Regions from separate parts of the Homo sapiens genome. Here region 2 is linked to region 1. The links are contacts of gene promoters, found by promoter capture Hi-C in human tissues and cell types (Jung and others, 2019). All regions are on one chromosome and are shown on one strand. The core of a region is centred on a gene start or on the middle of the fragment in contact, and the rest is flanking DNA. Distances in the headings are between cores, read along the strand shown.

Region 1 (6,010 bases), core at 2,066-4,565:
TCTACAGAGATGAACTGCAGAGTTACATGCACAGATATGCCAGTCATACATTCAGATCTGTGTAAACAGTGAGGCACACACACACATACACATGTGCACTTATACAGAAAGACTCAGACCCAGCCAGGCATGGTGGCTCAGGCCTGTAATCCTAGCACTTTGGGAGGTCGAGGCGGGTGGATCACGAGGTCAAGAGATTGAGACCATCCTGGCTAACATGGTGAAACCCCATCTCTACTAAAATTACAAAAAAATTAGCCGGGTGTGATGGCGGGCACCTGTAGTCCCAGCTACTCAGAAGGCAGAGATTGCAGTGAGCTGAGATTGCGCCACTGCACTCCAGCCTGGACAACAGAGCGCGACTCCATCTCAAAAACAAAAAAAGAAAGACTCAGACCTGACCTGTTAGTCAACAGCCAGATGCCAACAGATAATCACATTAGACTCATCAGCAAGCACACCGTGCACACAAGTTCCACTCCCATGTACAGGTTCCTGTCCCATGTACACAAGCCTGCACACAAACACGTATCCAGACTCCAGAACTGTTGAGACAGTGCCCACATACACACTCATAGAGTCACCTGTGCACAGGTGCACGTACACATTGTTTCACAGAGGCACACCAGGACAGAAACACATAAGAAATGTGAGGCAAAAGCGGACCCACACCTACACCTGTAAGATACACAGAGAAACAAACACATACACAAACTTACACATAGACTCATGCACTGTGTAATCAACAGTTCTATACCCCACCAAGGCTCTTGTCCTGGTGTGTCCAGAATTGGTGGGTTCTTGGTTTCACTGACTTCAAGAATGAAGCCACAGACCCTCGTGGTGAGTGTCACAGTTCTTAAACGCAGCGTGCGCGGAGTTTCTTCCTTCTGGTGCGTTCGTGGTCTCGCTAGCTTCAGAAGTGAAGCTACAGACCTTCGCAGTGTTAACAGCTCATAAAGGCAGCGTGGACCCAAAGAGCTAGACACAAAAGTTCTCCACGTCCCCACTAGATTAGCTAGATACAGAGTGTCCACTGGTGCATTCACAAACCCTGAGCTAGACACAGAGTGCTGATTGGTGCATTTACAAACCTTGGGCTAGATACAGAGTGCCAATTGGTGTATTTACAATCCCTTAGCTAGACATAAAGGTTCTCCAAGTCCCCACCAGAGTAGCTAGATACAGTGTTGATTGATGCATTCACAAACCCTGAGCTAGACACAGAGTGCTGATTGGTGTGTTTACAAACCTTGAGCTAGATACAGAGTGCCGATTGGTGTATTTTCAACCCCTTAGCTAGACATAAAGGTTCTCCAAGTCCCCAGCAGAGTAGCTAGATACAGTGTCGATTGATGCATTCACAAACCCTGAGCTAGACACAGGGTGCTGATTGGTGTGTTTACAAACCTTAAGCTAGACACAGAGTGCCCACTGGTGTATTTACAATCCCTTAGCTAGACATAAAGGTTCTCCAAGTCCCCACCAGACTCAGAAGCCCAGCTGGCTTCACCCAGTGGATCCCGCACCGGGGCCGCAGGTGGAGCTGCCTTCCAGTCCCGCGCCGTGCGCCCGCACTCCTCAGCCCTTGGGTGGTCGATGGGACTGGGCGCCGTGGAGCAGGGGGCGGCGCTTGTCGGGGAGGCTTGGGCCGCGCAGGAGCCCACGGCGGTGGGTAGGCTCAGGCATGGCGGGCTGCAGGTCCCGAGCCCTGCCCCGCGGGGAGGCAACGAAGGCCCGGCGAGAAGTCGAGCACAGCAGCTGCTGGCCCAGGTGCTAAGCCCCTCACTGCCCGGGTCCGGCTGGCAGCTCCGAGTGCGGGGCCCGCTGAGCCCACGCCCACCCGGAACTCGTGCTGGCCCGCAAGCGCTGCGCGCAGTCCCGGTTCCCGCCCGCGCCTCTCCCTCCACACCTCTCGGCAAGCTGAGGGAGCCGGCTCCGGCCGCAGCCAGCCCAGGAAGGGGCTCCCACAGTGCAGCGGTGGGCTGAAGGGCTCCTCAAGCGCGGCCAGAGTGGGCGCCAAGGCCGACTAGGCGCCGAGAGCGAGCAAGGGCTGTGAGGACTGCCAGCACGCTGTCCCCTCTCACTGGGTTGCTATTAAAAATGGGCGCTGAATATAAAAATTAACCGGGCGTGGTGGTGCATGTCTGTAAGTCCCAGCTACTCCGGAGGCTGAGGTGGGAGAATAGTTTGAGCCCGAGAGACTGAGGCTACGGTGAGCCGTGATTGTGCAACTGCACTCCAGCCTGGGCGACAGAGTGAGACCCAGTCTCAAAACAAAATCAAACACGGGCGCTGCCCTGGGCAGGGGAGGTCTGGGCACAGCTGTGCTGATGTGGGCAGTGGACAGGTGTCACGTGAGAGCCTGTGGCCAAGCCTAAGCTGCGGTTAAGGTGGGAGGCTGAAGGGTTTGGAGTGTGCACCACCCCGGACCACCTCTCAGTAGGAATGTGGCAATGCACTTCGGTGCTGGATTCCTACTTCTGGCTGTGTGATTTGCGACACGTTACCCCACGCACCTGTACCACAACTTCCTCATCTCCCAAATGGGATGACAGTAGTTAGCAAACCTCCCTGGACTGCTGTGAGCATTCTGCCAGAAAAATGTACTCCAAGCTCTTGAAGTAGGCCTGGCGTTTGGTTGGTGCTCAGTACATATTCAATGTTTCTGTCGCTGGCGTCATCACTGTGTTCATGGCAGAGCTCTGTGCCGCCAGGACTGGGCCGCCACCCAGACCTTCCTTTCCCGCCCCAGGGGTGAACTGTGGACAGGACCCTCTGGGGGGACTAGGCCAAGGCTCTCCCACCTCTGGGGACCCGCGCCCATGGGCCTCAGATATGTGGCTCGAGAAGGGGGAGTGGGGGCAGGGCCCCTGGAAAACCCCTCGAGGCCAGACCCACCACTCCCAATATCCGTAAGACCAGGGGCTTGAGTCTTTCCTGCAGACAGATGTGGGCAGGAACCCACCCGACTCCCAGCTACGTGGGGACGTGGACGAACTAACAGGACAAATTCTAGTTCCTGGACACCGCCCTCCCAGTATCCTCGCAATTAGACACCCATGCAGCGGCACTACACTGATCCGCACACGGAGATACACAGCGACATCCGCCCGCAAGAGCATGGTGGGTGCCGGAGCTCCCGGCTGTGGGCCCAGGAACTACATTTCCTAGAAGGATGTGCTAGATACTCGTTCGCGTCGGGACGCAAGCACCGGCCCGAACTCGCTCTAGGAAATGGAGTCTGACGCCTGCGCGGCGCAAACGCTCCCGGGAGGTGTAGTTTGCGCCTATTTCGCGCAGGCGCGCTTTCCCGCAGCGGCCGCCTGCTGCTCTTTGTGGCAGTCGCAGTCCTTTTGTGGGAGTCCGGTCTGTCCACTTGCCGGTCCCTCAGACCGTCGGCGGTCTCTGTCCGCTTCGGGACCTGTCCGCTGGTCGCTCCGCGTCCGATGGCTCCTGGCCGCGGAACCTTAGGCCTGGCCCTGGTCTCCGAGCGCGGGTTCGCCGGGAGGAGCGTGTGGCGGGGGTGTGCCGGGGCGTGAGTGCGCCGAGCATGGGGCTGAGCCTGGTGTGGGGAGTGGGTATCTGCGGAGCCGGCCTGAACCCCACCTCAGCCGGGCGCGGGGAGGGGGCTCCGTGCGTGTGATCGTGCAGCTGTGAGCGCGTGGCCGCCCCGCGGGGCTCCGCTGCAGGCCCCTCAGCCCCAGGAGCAGTACTCGCTCTTCAGGGCCTGCCCTGGATCCTGGAGGCTACACAGCTGCCCACTCCTCCTGGGGAGGCTGCCGTGGAGGCCATGGAGATCCCTGCCCCGGAGCCCGAGAAGACAGGTACAGCTTCACTCTTGTAGTCAGTATGTCTGTGGATTTGCACTTGAGGATATTGACACTCAGAGAGATCAGGCCAGTTTCCCAGAAGCATCCAGCATCTTTTTTTTTTTTTTTAAATGGAATCTCACTCTGTCACCCAGGCGGGAGTGGTGCAATGGCTTGATCTCCGCTCACTGCAACCTCTGCTTCCCGGGTTCAAACTATTCTCCCGCCTCAACCTCCCAAGTAGTTGGGATTGCAGGCGCGCGCCACCACGCCCGGCTAATGTTTGTATTTTTAGTAGAGACGGGGTTTTGCCATGTTTCCCAGGCTGGTCTTAAGCTCAAGCGATCCGCCCGCCTCGGCCTCCCAAAGTGCTGGGATTACAGGCGTGAGCCATCGCTCCTGGCCTCCTGCTTCTTTCTTCCCCGCGCCCAATCATTTGTTCCCACTCAGACGTGCTTGATTGGGGGTAGCAGCTCTTTTCGTCATGAATTGGAGTGTCTGAGACACAGGCAGATTATTCCTCGATGCTGTTTCTGTTGGTGCTAGCTACTGGGGCTCGTTCCCCACCTGGCCTTGCTGGCAGGTTCTGCCTCCTCTCTGATTCTCACTTGTGCCACGACAGGTGGGCTTTAAGCTCAGCCGTGAGCCTGGTAGCCGTGACCTTGACTCATTTCTCCTTCGCCAGCTCTTTCCTCTCAGGATCCTGCTCTTTCCCTGAAAGAGAATCTCGAGGATATATCGGGTTGGGGTCTTCCCGAAGCCAGGTCCAAGGTGAGTGGCTGTGTGTTCTTCCTTCTTTATGAAGAGGGTTGGCACATTCCCTCCCCAGCCCTGGATCGTCAGCCTTCCACAGACCTTCACCCGGGTACCTGCTGGCCAGTCCTCAGGAAGCTCTGGGCAGTGGGAACAGCTCCAAGTGAAGAGTCCAGATGTTGCCCGAGGTGTGCCCTCGAGATGTGCTCTATTGAATGTCTCGCCCAGTCCAATTCAGTGGGTCAGTTGCTGGGGATCTCTCTGCCCAGCGCTGTGCTGGGAGCTCTGAGGAGTGGTTTTAGTGGAATCTGAGAAAGTAGTTGACGGCTCACATGGGGTCGCTTTGCCTATCCACGTGCTGGCCAGGGGTTGGTGCAGGATGTTTGCACGGTTGGTTTACTGGGACTGGAATCAGACAGGGGCACGTGGAGCAGCTCAGGAAGGGCTGGATTGCAGCACTTGGTTAAGAGTGGCGGTAGGGGACACATCCCTGTGTGCTTTCCTCTGTACCCAGCCCCTGGCATGGGGCCTTCATGGAGAGTCCTGGAGATTTAGAGAATCTGGGGGCTCAGCAAGGAATTGGCCCTGGGAACTTCTGCAGCCAAATGGGACCCAGATCCCTCCTTTTACAGACTGTGAACTCTGTTCCTCATTTTGTTTTTCTACCGCAACCACCTCACCCCATGGTTGTATTTAGAAGGGTGCAGTTGACAAAGAGAGCACAGTAGAGTGAAAGATGTGGAGGAATAAGGGGTCTTTGGGTTTTTGTTTTTTTTTTAGCATTTTGTGATTTTGTCAGTCTGCCACTCAAAAGAGGTGATGGCAGATTATAGCCAGCTAGAAACAGCTGCAAAACGTGTATTGTGAGCTGTGCCTCACTTCTGTAGTGTGTCACAATGCTTTATAGTCCTCAAGAAACTTGACAGTCAAATGCAATGCATGTTCCTTGCTTAGGGGATAGATCCAAAAAAATTGATAAAGGGCAGTTTGGGACAAGAGGAAATTTGAAAATGGGCTGTATCTTAGGTCATATTGTATCAATATGAAATTTATTGCATGTGATAATAGTACTGTGATTATGTAAGAGAATATCCACAGGAGATACAAGCTGAAGACTGTAGAGTGAGACATCATGATGTCTGCAACTTACCTTCAAATGGTTCAGCAAAAAAAAATGTGTGTGCATGTATGTATGTCTGTATGTGTCTGTGCAGCTCCGTCTAGGTGGTAGGGCCCTCATGCATGTGTTATTCCTATTCCTAAAATATTAGCTTGTTAGATCTTTGAATAACCAGTTGACTCTCCTGAGTACACATCAGCTTTGGCATTTTCTCTTGACAGTCTCATTCTCACTCACAGTTCAAGTTGTTCTGTCTCCTGGGACATCTTGTGTGGTCTGTTCTGACTTCTCTGCTAGTGTCATTACCACATCAGCATCTGATTCC
Region 2 (6,010 bases), core at 2,002-4,501, 100 kb after region 1:
TATCATTGTACAGAGAACATGACAAATATGCCCCACCATTCAAACCTGCCCTTTTTTTTTTTTTTAGACGGAGTCTCGCTCTGTCACCCAGGCTAGAGTGCAGTGGTGTGATCTTGGCTCACTGCAACCTCTGCCTCTCAGGTTCAAGTGATTCTCCTGCCTCAGCCTCCCCAGTAGCTGGGATTACAGGCGTGCACCACCACACCCAGCTAATTTTCTTGCATTTTTAGCAGAAATGGGGTTTCACCATGTTGGTCAGGCTGGTCTCGCATTCCTGACCTCAGGTGATCCATCTGCCTTGACCTCCCAAAGTGCTGGGATTACAGGCATGAGCCACCGCGCCCGGCCCAAACCTGCCTATTTACCCACGACAAGGAGATTCCGGCTTCTTGAGGGGTGAGGTTTTATCTCACAAACATCTCAAAAGCCCCCATGGCTGGCTGTACCACTTGCTAATGACAGACTCTGGGCACTTGTCTCATATACCCACGCCTCAGCTTTCTCATCACCACCATGACCACCGCAGAGTCAAGAGGGCCTCCTTCTCTGAGGGTGACCTCCACAACTACCCCAATAGACATCAAGCCCCCAGGTGGATCCTCACCTTCCGTGAGCATAGTAGTGCCTCTGCTCTCTTGGGAAGGGATAAATGGCAGCTACTCCCTAAACCCATACTGCAAAAACAAGTACGGTAAAACAGAAAGACATCTTCCATGGGCAGGCAAAGCACATTTACCAAGTCCAATTTAAGAAACTTAGCTAGGGGCTAAGGGGGATATGCTGAAAAATGAATCAATTCTCTGCTGGGAAGGAGCACAGCACAGGGTGCAACATTTAAAACATTTAAAACCACATCTATACGGTTTTAAATCACCAAAACGTCCACCCTCAGGAGAACAGATGTCATGGCACAGTGATCTGACAGAACATTAGGCAACAGTCAAAATGCGCAAAGTGGCCGGGCGCAGTGGCTCACGCCTGTAATCCCAACACTTCGGGAGGCTGAGGCGGATGAATCACGAGGTCAGGAGTTCAAGACCAGCCTGGCCAACATAGTGAAACCCCATCTCTACTAAAAATACAAAAAAATTAGCCGGGCATGGTGGTAGGTGCCTATAATCCCAGCTACTTGGGAGGCTGAGGCAGGAGAATCACGCCACTGCATTCCAGCCTGCATGACAGTGCGAGACTCCGTCTCAAAAACAAAAAAACAAACAAAAAAACAATGTGCAAAGTAGGCTGGGCACAGTGGCTCATGCCTGTAATCCCAGCACTTTGGGAGGCCAACGTGGGAGGATCACCTGAGGTCAGGAGTTCAAGACCAGCCTGGCCAACATGAGGAAGCCCCATCTCTACTAAAAATACAAAAATTAGTGGGGCGTGGTGGCGCATGCCTGTTATCCCAGCTACTGGGAAGGCTGAGGAAGGGGGAAGCTGAGGCAGGAGAATCGATTGAACCCAGGAGGTGGAGGTTGCAGTGAGCCAAGATTGTGCCATTGCACTCCAGCCTGGGCGACAGAGCCAGACTTTGCCCCCCCCCCAAAAAAAAAAGTGCAAAGTAGGCTGGGCATGGTGGCTCATGCCTGTAATCCCAGTGCCTTGGGAGGTCCAGGTAGGTGGAGTTCAAGACCACCTTGGGCAATATAGCGCGACCCTTTCTCTACAAAAAATTTAAAAATTAACTAGGCATGGTGGTGTACACCTGTAGTCCTGGCTATCTGGGGTGAGACAGCTTGGGGTTCACTGCAGTCTCAAGCTCCCAGGTTCAAGTGATCCTCCCACCTCAGCTTCCTCAGAAGCTGGAACAACAGGAGCTCACCACTGCGCCCGGCTAATTTTTCAAATTTTCTTTGTAGAGAAGAGGTTTCACTATATGGTGTAGGCTAGAGTGCAGTGGTAGGGTCTTGGCTCACTGCAGCCTTCATCTCCTGGGTTCAAGCGATTCTCCTACCTCAGCCTCCCGAGTAGCTGGGATTACAAGCACGTGTCACCACACCCAGCTAATTTTTGTATTTTTAGTAGAGACGGGGTTTCACCATGTTGGCCAGGCTAGTCTCTCCTGACCTCAGGTGATCTGCCAGCCTTGGCCTCCCAAAGTGCTGGGATTACAGGCATGAGCCACCGCGCCCGCCCCCAGTCTCATATCCCCAATTTTAGTCATCACAAGCCAAGTTCCCCGTTTTGTACTGTTCGAAGTTTCAGTGGGGAGAAGAAAGGAAGCTTAATGTGCCACATAGCTACAAACTGAAGGATACAAGATGAATTTTTATGAAGTGATGGATGGCAGAGTCAAAATCATTTCAGAGGAACTTTCAGTTCGGTACGATTTTACTGAGTAGATACCCTCAGCCTTCTGTAGGGCCCCCGAACGAGCAGTATCCCCTCAAAGAAACTCAATCCTTGGCAGCATGAAGCAAGGTCGGCCACAAAGGCAAAGGGGGCGGCTGCGGTAGAGGAGAGGGAGTGGGTGCTGATTCCCAGCGGGGCAGCCTTCCAAAGGGTGCGCTCTGGAAGAATCTCCCAGGGAGCCGTCTTGGAGGCACTCGGCCCCGCGGAGGGCCGGAGCGAGGGCGCCCAGTGAGGAGCCCAGGCGGAAGGTGGCGGTGCCCCGCTGCCCGCCCCAGATCCACTCGGCTCGGCCCGCACCGGATCTAAAATGGTCAGAACTGGCAGCCGACGCTTCGCGCTCTGGTGATTTTGCACTGACAGCGCGATCTCCGGCTCCTCTCAGGAAACCGGGAGAGCTGGCAAGGCTGGGCTCCTACGGCTGCAGTCCCCGGGCCCGATCGAGGGAACTGAGGCTCGTCAGGCCGGCCCCAAATCGCCCGCCTGTTGCAAGGCCGCCCGCTCCAGCGCGGAGGGTCGCGGCCAGGAAGGCCGCATTCGGACCTGCCGCAGGCAACAGGGCCCGCCCGGGTGCCAGGAGGCCGGCGCGCCAGCAGCCGCGCTGAGGAGGCCTCGCACCCTGGCCCCTGGCCGAGCGCCAGATCCCGGCCCCTACGCGCCCGCGCCCGGGGATCCCGCCGGCCGCGTCCCCGCCACGTCAGGCCGCGGGCTCTCCTCAGGTCGCCGCCCCCGAGCCTCCGGCCCGCGCCCGCCCCCGCGCCCCTCGGACTCCGCGCCGCTAGCTTGTCCCCGGCCCAGCGATGCCTGCTTGCCGCCCGACCCCCGCGTTCGCTGCCGCCCGGCCCGTTCGGCTCACGCCTCGCAGCTGACCTGGTGCCGCCGCCAGCCGAGGCCGCACTCGCAGCTGGAGGGAGGCGGGAGGCGGGAGGCGGGAGGCGCGAGGCGGGAGGCTGGGCGAGAGGAGCCGGCGGGGCGGGGGCCTGGGCCGTCACGTGGGTGCGCCGCGCAGGCGCCGGGCGGGCCAGACGTAGGCCCGGGGGTTCCCGGCCTGGCCGGGTAGCAGCGCGGGGGCGGCCCTGGGGCGGGGAGACAGGGGGCGGCTCCACTCCGGCGCTCTGCGGAGGACAGCAGCGATCGCCAAGGCTCAGTGAGTCCCCGCACTAGCGCGGCACCTGGCACTTGGCGGGGCCGAACCAACGAATGAGCGAATTTGCCGAGAGTCGCCCCGTCTGAATCCATTGACTCTTTCCTTGCCTCGGTCCTACCCTCATTCCTCGACTCACTTCCTCCTGCCCTTCCTCACTATCTCCCTCCCCGCTCATATCCTCCCTCTCCTTTCCTCATTCCCTTCTTCACTCTCTTCTCTCCTCTCTTACTCCCCCCCTCTCATTCCCTCCCTCCTTCACTCTCTCATTCCTTCCCTTCCTATCTTACCCACCATTCCCTTCCTCCCTCACTCATTCACTCCCTCCCTGTCTCCCCCTCTCATCCCCTCCCTCTCTCATTCCCTTTCCCTCCCTCCTTAACTCTCGTTCTCTCCTCCCTCTCTCATTCCTTCCCTCCCTGTCTCATTTCCCCCCTTCTTTCCCTCCCTCCCTCTCCTCTTCTCCCATTGCCTCCCTCCCTCTTTGATTCCCTTCTTTCCTCCTCTCCTCCACTTGTTCCCTTCGTCACGCGCTCATTCCCTCCCTCCCGCGGCCTGCTCCTTCCCCGCTCCCTCCGCGGTCGGTGCCGCTGACCGTAGCGCGCCCCCTGCGGGATATCGGGGAGAATCGCTTAACACCGCCAGAGTGAACAGGTGCTAGTTTGTGTGCCCGTTCCTTTACTGAGATTTTGCAGTAAATCTAATTCCCAGTCTTAAAGCCTGGTCCCAGAGGTCCGTGCGCGGGTCTTGGCATTCATTGTTCTCCACCTCACCTTCGAGCAGGTCCCATCCTCCGAGGCGTATCCGTAATGGCTGCGCCCAGAGCTTGGAGCCACAGAGCCTCCTGATGGGATAAGGTTGGAGTGTCCCACACTGTGGTTTTGAGAGGGACTGTGAAGGGTGGAGAGAGTGGTAGGGGGAGGATGTGGCTGGAGATGGCTCATGGTTAAAAAGAAAGGTGGGGCCGGGCTTGGTGGCTGGCGCCTGTAATCCCAACACTTTGGGAGGCCGAGACGGGCGGATCACGAGGTCAGGAGATGGAAACCATCCTGGCCAACATGGTGAAACCCCATCTCTACCAAAACACACACAAAAAAACTAGCCGGTCGTGGTGGCGCGCACCTGTAGTCCCAGCTACTCGGGAGCCTGAGGCAGGAGAATCGCTTGAACCCGGGAGGCAGAGGTTGCAGTGAGCCGAGATCACGCGCCACTGCACTCCAGCCTGGTGACAGAGCGAGACTCCGTCTCAAAAAAAAAAAAAAAAAAAAAAAAAAAAATTGGTGGAAGGGGAATGTAAAAGGAGGAAAATACACGGAAGAGAATTGCTGTCCTGGCTGAGTCCAGAGAGATAACTGAGGGTCCCAGACAAGGATCAAGAGAACGGGATTGGCCTCCAGAGGCAGAGGTTCCAAATGGGAGTGGGCTTCCTCCTAGAAAGACTTTCTGGAGGAGACCCCCCTACTGTGTAACAGAGGAGGACTTTGGGATTAAGAAAAGCATTCCAGGAAGCCGACAGTGTCAGCAAACGTGGAGGTGAGATCCTTCAAAGTGAGTGGTGTGGAGGTTTCCAGAATTTTCTGAGCCTGAAGGGAAGGTTGGAGAGCAGACCCTGCCCTTTGGAGGCTTGACTTAGCCCTGAGGGCACCCTGTAGCCAGGGTGGGCAGATGCCAATATGGTAGAGACGAAGACTGAGTAGGGAGCCAGCCACAGTGCTGTGGTCTCAGGCAGGGAGTGAAGACCAGAGTGGAGCAGGCTAGAAACCTGGGAAGGAAGCAGGTTCCCCAGTATAAGCCCAGTGATGTGTGAAGAATGAGCCCAGGAGATGGGTGGGGAAGTAGGCCCACCCTGCCTACAGGGGAGCCAGAGCAAGAGCAGGTCTGGGGGAAGATGAGGCCCCCCTTGGCTCCAGGTAGGGGAAGACTGACCTCCAAGGCCCAATGGGACCAGGTGTACGGGTGGACCCAGAGAGGAGAGGAAAAGGAATCCTGGGGCAGCAACAAGAAGGCCACTGTGGTCTGAATGTCGGTACCCCCAAAATTCATATGTTGGAACTGAATCCTCAGTGCGATACTATTATAAAGTAGGGCCTTTGGGAGGGGTTTAGGTCATGAGGGTGAAGTCCTCACCATGGGATCAGTGTATAAAAGAGGTTCGAAGGAGCTCATCCCCCACTTTTGCCAGGTGAGGACACTGTAATAAGCACCATCTTCAAGGCAGAGAATCGGCTGGGCGCAGTGGCTCACGCCTGTAATCCCAGCACTTTGGGAAGCCGAGGTGGGAGGATCATGAGGTCAGGAGATCAAGACCATCCTGGCTAACATGGTGAAACCCCATCTCTACTAAAAATACAAAAAATTAGCCAGGCATGGTGGTGGGCGCCTGTAGTCCCAGCTACTTGGGAGGCTGAGGCAGGAGAATGGCGTGAACCCGGGAGGCAGAGCTTGCAGTGAGCTGAGATCGCGCCACTGCACTCCAGCCTGGGTGACAGAGCAAGACTCCGTCTCAAAAAAAAAAAGCAG

What was found. Contacts are between HindIII fragments. The study calls those that stand out against the background at their distance.
Region 2: a contact is called between the fragment with the promoter of KLHL22 here and the fragment with the promoter of ZNF74 in region 1, in 6 of the 25 tissues and cell types used here (IMR-90 fibroblasts, bladder, liver and 3 more).

The regions. Positions count from the first base shown.
Region 1 is chr22:20,390,836-20,396,845 of GRCh38, forward strand. It overlaps ZNF74 (zinc finger protein 74), which reads left to right and starts at 3,316. Exons shown (of 5, transcript NM_003426.4): 1 at 3,316-3,827; 2 at 4,498-4,583. The coding sequence starts at 3,794. RefSeq lists enhancers at 2,426-3,415, 2,817-2,886, 3,357-3,496. The HindIII fragment of the contact is 17,508 bases long and covers 1-6,010 here.
Region 2 is chr22:20,492,544-20,498,553 of GRCh38, forward strand. It overlaps KLHL22 (kelch like family member 22), which reads right to left and starts at 3,252. Exons shown (of 7, transcript NM_032775.4): 1 at 3,217-3,252. LOC101928824 (a long non-coding RNA gene) reads left to right here and starts at 3,370. Exons shown (of 4, transcript XR_007068011.1): 1 at 3,370-4,144. RefSeq lists a silencer at 2,912-3,571 and an enhancer at 3,766-4,418. The HindIII fragment of the contact is 15,001 bases long and covers 478-6,010 here.